Linked DNA regions of Homo sapiens: region 2 is linked to region 1. Evidence: promoter capture Hi-C in human tissues and cell types (Jung and others, 2019). All regions are on one chromosome and are shown on one strand. Each heading gives the region's core, a stretch centred on a gene start or on the middle of the fragment in contact. The rest is flanking DNA. Distances are from core to core; before and after follow the strand shown.

The links. The method cuts DNA at HindIII sites, captures the fragments that hold promoters and counts their contacts. A contact is called where the count stands out against the background at its distance.
Region 2: a fragment that was not itself captured here is called in contact with the fragment with the promoter of EMILIN3 in region 1 in 1 of the 25 tissues and cell types used here (hippocampus).

What each region holds. Positions count from the first base shown.
Region 1 is chr20:41,365,008-41,368,137 of GRCh38, reverse strand. It overlaps EMILIN3 (elastin microfibril interfacer 3), which reads left to right and starts at 1,320. Exons shown (of 4, transcript NM_052846.2): 1 at 1,320-1,670; 2 at 2,981-3,103. The coding sequence starts at 1,504. RefSeq lists an enhancer at 2,082-2,583. The HindIII fragment of the contact is 32,668 bases long and covers 1-3,130 here.
Region 2 is chr20:41,310,619-41,314,012 of GRCh38, reverse strand. All of the region lies in intron 1 of ZHX3 (zinc fingers and homeoboxes 3), which reads left to right. Among named protein-coding and RNA genes, the nearest start is that of ZHX3, 5.4 kb to the left of the region's middle. The HindIII fragment of the contact is 4,595 bases long and covers 1-3,394 here.

The DNA of each region.
Region 1 (3,130 bases), core at 71-2,570:
TGCAAGAATACATTTCTGTGTGTTAAGCCACTGAGTCTGTGGCTGTTACCACAGCCCTGAGAAACTCACACAACCTACACCTGGAAGCTGGATTCCTTCAGCTTCTGTGTTCTGATTCCAAAGCCTGGGGGAAAGCAGGATGGGCCTAGCTGGGGTCAGATGTCCGCCCCACAGAACCCAAAAGCCACTAAAGCTAAGGGCAGGAAATAGATGTGGGTTTCGGAGCTGCCCCTTCCAGTATCCTTGATAACCATCACCCTATCCAAAAGGCATTAATTCATATCTCAAGGTCAATTTGGAGGGAGGTCTCTCCAAGCAAGCCCCAGAGTTCTGTACACCTATCAGCTCCTGGGGCAAAGACACAGACGGCTGTAGCCACCGGTGTGGATGAGACAAGGCCAGGAAAGTACCGCTCTGATGACAGAATCAGAAGGACTCTGTGCAGGTTAGAGAGTTAGCAAGGTGATACTGAATGAGGACGACGATAAAACCCAACTCTTGGGTTCCAAGAGTCAACTTCACAAGCAAAATGTGGACGACGCCTGGCTTCACCGCGGCAGTGCCTTGTGAGAAAGACCTGAGGATTTTCTCTGACCAGCCGGCTTAGAGCTTCAGTTGCACGAAAAGCACAGCACTTTTGGCTGGGCTGGGGCGGTGATAGGCCTTTCGGGCTCGGTGCAACCCATACCTAAGACAGAGAGGCAACACAGGCGCCTCCAGAGAACCAGAGGTGCAACCGGGCCACCAGGCTACGTGGCAGAGGTTGCGGGGTAAGGGGGAGGTGGGATGCCTGGGGAGAGGTCAGCGGAGTTATCAAACTAAGGTTCCCGGGCAATGATGGGGCCAGGAGGCAGAGCGAGCAAACGGGGATGATCTGGGGTCTATTCCAAAGAGGTGGCGGGGGAGGTGGTGCTGCTGTGCCCCCAGTCACGGCCATCTCGGCTCCAGAGCCCTGGAGAGCAGTTCCCGGGTTCACACGGACTCTGAAGACAAGCGTATCCTGAGGGTGGACGACTCCTGGAAAGTCCACGCCCAGGCTGGCCTCAGGGGTCCGCTTCTCTGCGTCTCGCCCCGTGCCCGCAGGCGACAGAGTGGCTGGTGTGCTCGGGGGGCCTCCCAGGGCGCGGCGGCCTGCGCCCCTGCCACCTGGGGCTGCTCCCTTTGGAACCTCCTGTTCGCAGGCGGCTCCTCGGCCGTCCGCTCGGAGCTGGGGCGAGGGGCTGGCGGCGGCGAGCGGCGCGGCCCCAAGTTTATGCTAATCCGCAAAGAGCCCGCCTCCCGCCTCCCCTCCGCGGCCCCAGCCGCTAGCAGCGCCGGCCACTCCGCGGGACGCAGCCGCCGCGAAGCGCCAGGCGGCCGGGCCAGCGAGCTCGGGGGCCGAAGGGGACCCCGGGACCCTCGGGGCGGGACCCGGGCCGACCAGCGGCGGGGGCGGCGCGGCGCTGCAGGCGGACACCCGGCGGGGGGCACCGCGCGGGGCCGGGCAGAGGCGCGGGGGCCGCTATGGGCCGCCGCCGCCTGCTCGTCTGGCTGTGCGCCGTCGCGGCGCTGCTCTCGGGGGCGCAGGCCAGGGGCACCCCGCTCCTGGCGCGGCCTGCGCCGCCCGGTGCCTCCCGCTACAGTCTCTACACGACGGGATGGCGCCCGCGGCTGCGCCCGGGGCCGCACAAGTAAGCGCGGGCGGGCGGCGGGCGGGAAGAGGGAGGGATGGGCCCGCGCGCGTCGCCGCTCCCACCTGCCCGCACCCGCGGGGGGCGTCGAGGCCCCGGGCACCCCGAGGCCGCTGCACAGAGGGGGCGGCGCCCGGGGCCGAGCCCCTGCCCAGGCGAGCGCCCTACGCTCCGGGAGGTTGCGGGGCTGGCGAGGAAAAAGGAACCGAGGGGGCCTGGCGCGGCGGCTTGGGATCCTGGCAGTGCCAGCGGAAACCTTTCCAGCGAAGTAACATTTTCCAGCTGCGCTGTGTGCAGACTCCGGGCGAGCGGACCAGGTGGAGGGAGAGGAGGAAAGGCGGTCCGCGCGCTGAGCACGCGGGGCTCCCCCGCCCCGGGCCTCCCTTCTCTCCCCTGGCCCGGCCAGGTAGGAGATAGAGCTGCGCATCCGGGCGGCCGCTGCCCTCTCGCAGTCAGCCTGGCCCCAGCAACCCCATGGGAGCCCCAGCGTGGCCGGGCTGCAGAGCCAGAGCGGGCTCCTGGCTCCGGGCCTGTGCTGTGGCACAGCCGTCCACAGCGGTCGGCTTATGCCAGGCAGCCACCTCCTCAGCCCTTGTGGCTCATCAAGGAGCCTGCTTTCCCCGCCTCAGCTTCTGGTGTTTCGTGGGCAGTGGCTTGCGAACTGGCCTCAGTTAAGTGGGCTGGAGGCTCTGCCTGGGGTGCTGGCTGAACTTGAATTCTAGCTGAATTTGAGAGCTGTTGTAGGAGGAAGAGTACCGACACTCAGTGGGCCTGGGTACATCACAGCGAGCCTCCTGGAGGAGGTGGTACAAGAACTGCTCTGAGAGTAAGGGAACAGGACCAAAGGCAGGGGCTGCAAAACTACGAGGAGAGGTGGATTTCCCCGGGAGCCAGGCAGGGAGGAAGGACAAGACATGGTGCTCTCAAAGGAGTCACTGAGTGGGGACTCGGAAGCCTTAAATGCCAAGATAAGGAGTTTGGAATCAGCGAAGGATGGGGGGGTGTGGCAGGGCACTTGAGGGAGAATCCGGGCTGGCCTCTTCCCCACGCAGGGAGGGGCAGCCACATCAGGCTCCTGGTTCCAAATAGTGCTTAGCCCAGGGGCCACCCATCACGGAGGCTGGAATCAGAGACCAGCAGCGGGGCTGGACCCCAGACCAAGGGCGTTGGCTCCCAGGGACACAGAGAACAGACAGAAGAGACATGGGAGTTTGGAGTCCTGCTGAGGCCCACAGATGGAGGTGGGAGGGTAGGCGCCTCTGTGGGCCTCGCTCAGCCAGATATTCCAGGGGTGCCATTTTCTCCTGTAGGGCCCTCTGTGCCTATGTGGTGCACAGGAATGTGACCTGCATCCTACAGGAGGGAGCGGAGAGCTACGTAAAGGCTGAATACCGGCAGTGTAGATGGGGGCCCAAGTGCCCCGGGACAGTCACGTAAGTGCACTCCTCACCTACACACTT
Region 2 (3,394 bases), core at 262-2,761, 54 kb after region 1:
AAACAGAGACCTTCAAAAACTTGTTTTTCTTATCCTCCAAATATACAAGAAGTTGGTAGTGGTGGTGGTAAGGGGGGAATCCTAAATGAAAATTATTTTCTTAAAGGCCTAAAAGGAGGCTGGGCGTGGTGGCTCATGCCTGTAATCCCAGCACTTTGGGAGGCCAAGGCGGGCAGATCACGAGGTCAGGAGATCGAGACCATCCTGGCTAACACGGTGAAACCCCGTCTCTACTAAAAATACAAAAATTAGCCAGGTGTGTTGGCGGGCGCCTGTAGTTCCAGCTACTTGGGAGGCTGAGGCAGGAGAATGGCGTGAACCCAGGAGGCGGAGCCTGCAGTGAGCTGAGATCTCGCCACTGCACTCCAGCCTGGGCGACAGAGTGAGACTCCATCTCAAAAAAAAAAAAAAAAAAAAAAGGCCTAAAAGTATGTGTTAAGAATTTATTTTTACTTGTTCCACAGGTATTGATTGAGCATGTATTTGAGCCAGTTCTATGTTTGTGTGGGCTGTGTTACCATGTTCAGTTTTAAATTATCAACGTGATTTTTGATTATTTCTTTTCTTTTCTGGCTCTGCTACCTCCCTTCTCTCATCATATTCTCTCTCTAAATGATCTCATCAATTCCCAGGACCCTAGAACCCCCTGGATGCAGATGACTCTTTCTGTTACGTCTCCCCACCCTTTCTCTGGTTCCAGACTTGCAGTTTTAGCTACCACCTTCCTGTCCCAGTGATCTCAAATTTCACAGGTTCAGAACTGATCTCTCAATCTCCCTCTCAAGCTTCGAAATTTGTATTCCTCATTCCTGACCCTTCCTTACTCTCCCCTTCAGCCTTCCGTCTCACTGTTAGTTAGTACTGTCTATTCATTGTTCAGGCTGGACACCTGAAAGTTGTCTGTGATTCTTCTCATTTCCTCACTCCACATGCAACCCATCTGTATGGCTTTTTGGCCTAGCCTCTAGAATATCTCAAACCCTCCCTTTTTTCCATCTTCCTAATTCACCTACCCACCTCTCTCAGATGGATGATTCCCTGTCTCCTGGTTGGTCTCCCAGCTTCCACTGTTGCTTTCTTCTAGCACATTTTCCTCACAGCAGCCAGAGTGATCCTACTAAAGAGTAAACCCAAGCATGCCACCCCCCTGCTTGGTGGCTTCCACTGCACTTGGACTCGCATCCACACTTACTCTGACGTGCTCCCTCTCCAGGCTCCCCTCCTTGTTTGCCATGCTTGTCAGATTGAACACCTTCAGTTCCTCAAACATGCCGTATTCTCCTCTTCTGTACAGGCTCTTCAAGACCTCCACTTGTCTCATAGAAAGATCCTTAAACGTCCAGTCTCAGCTAAAACATCTCCTCCTCAGAGGGGCCTTCCCTGATCACCACTTCTATAGTAGCTTCCTCCCCATTGTCCTCTATCTCAGCACATGTGCATTTATTGCTTGCACTTCACTAAAATTCATAGTGTGTCCGGAGTTCATTCCTTCTGGTAGGTCTGTGGTCTTGCTGACTTCAAGAAAGGAGCTGCGGACCTTTGTGGTGAGTGTTACAGCTCTTAAAGATGGCATGGACCTAAAGAGTGAGTAGCAGCAAGATTTATTGTGAAGAGCGAAAAAACAAAGCTTCCACAACCTGGAAGGGAACACGAGTGGGTTGCTGCTACTGGCTGGGGTGGCTAGCTTTTATTCCCTTATTTGTCCCTGTCCATGTCCTGCTGATTGGTCCATTTTACAGGGTGCTGATTGGTCCATTTTACAAACCTCTAGCTAGCTACAGAGTGCTGATTGGTGCGTTTTACAAACCTCTAGCTAGCTACAGGGTGCCGATTGGTGCGTTTTACAATCCTGGCTACAGAGTGCTGATTGGTGCATATTACAATCCTCCTGTAAGACAAAGAAGTTCTCCAAGTCCCCACTCGACCCAGGAAGTCCAGCTGGCTTTACCCCCTCAATAGCACTTCATTTATATGTTTCCTTCTTTTGTTTTCTTCTTTATTGTCTACTCCCCCAATAGAGACTACAAGATCTAGGAGGGCAGGGACAGCCTTGTCCTGTATATGGTACAGTCCTAGCACCCAGTGCTCTGCCCAGAGTCCAGTAGGTGTAGGGCCTCAGAACATTTTGAATAGTTATTTTAATAGCTACTTTTTTCGAGAATTCGTATGTACCAGGTCCATTGCTATGTGTGTTCACACATTATCTCTAAATCTTCGGGAGAACCCAGTATGGTGATGATGGTAATTATATTACCACTTCTGTTTTTTTAGTTGAGAAAATTGAACTTAGAGAATTTAAGTAATGTTTAAAGTTACATAGCTAAGAATATGGTGGAATTAGGATTTTAATCTATGTGATGTGACTTTAGAACCTTCCCCCTTATTCATTACTGCCTTCTGATATGAATGCAGGAATGAATGAATATGAAATATGCTGCAATATTAATCCCTGATGGTTTCTCTTGTTTTTCTAAGCATGTATGAGAGCATTAAAAATAAGAACACTTGGGTTAGGATGTTATATTCTCCTGGGAAGCTTCTGTTAATAACCACTATGCCAAAGCATATAGATAGTTTGCTTTCAGGCTCTGTGTTCTAATTTTACCTTTGCCACTTTCTAGCTGTAAGCCTTGAGGAAAATTACATGTCTAAGTCTGTTTTTTCAGCTGTAAATGGAGAAAAATAATAGTTCTTATCTCATAGGATCTTTTGAGGAGCAGAATTATACACAAAAAACTATCAATGTTAGCTATTACTATTATAAGGAGAAAAAAAAATCCTCAAGAAAAGACTTGTAAACTCATCAACAATTTAGAGTTTGGATAAGAGTGAATGACAGACAATAACTAACTTAGTGTTCTTTCACTGACCGTAGTTTTGAATTTATAAAAATTATCAGAGAATTGGCCGGGCACGGTGGCTCACGCCTGTAATCCCAGCACTTTGGGAGGCCTAGGCGGGCGGATCACGAGGTTAAGAAATAAAGACCATCCTGGCCAACATGGTGAAACCCTGTCTCTACTAAAAATACAAAAAATTAGCTTGGTGTGGTGGCACGTGCCTGTAGTCCCAGCTACTCAGGAGGCTGAGGCAGGAGAATTGCTTGAACCTGGGAGGGGGAGGTTGCAGTGAGCCGAGATCACGCCACTGCACTCCAGCCTGGTGACAGAGCAAGACTCTGTCTCAAAAAAAAAAAAAAAAAAAAAAAAAATCAGAATTAACTATCTGGGTTGGGATTTATAATTATTCTATTGATGTATGACAACGTATGTTTGGATTTGTGCTTGTTAAATGCTTGTGAAGTAAGATAGCTTTCTTTAAAAAAAAAAAAACCTCTTCCCCATCTTTAGAAGTATTCTCAGGGTAGAGAGATCTTTCAAGAAGCTGGCTATAC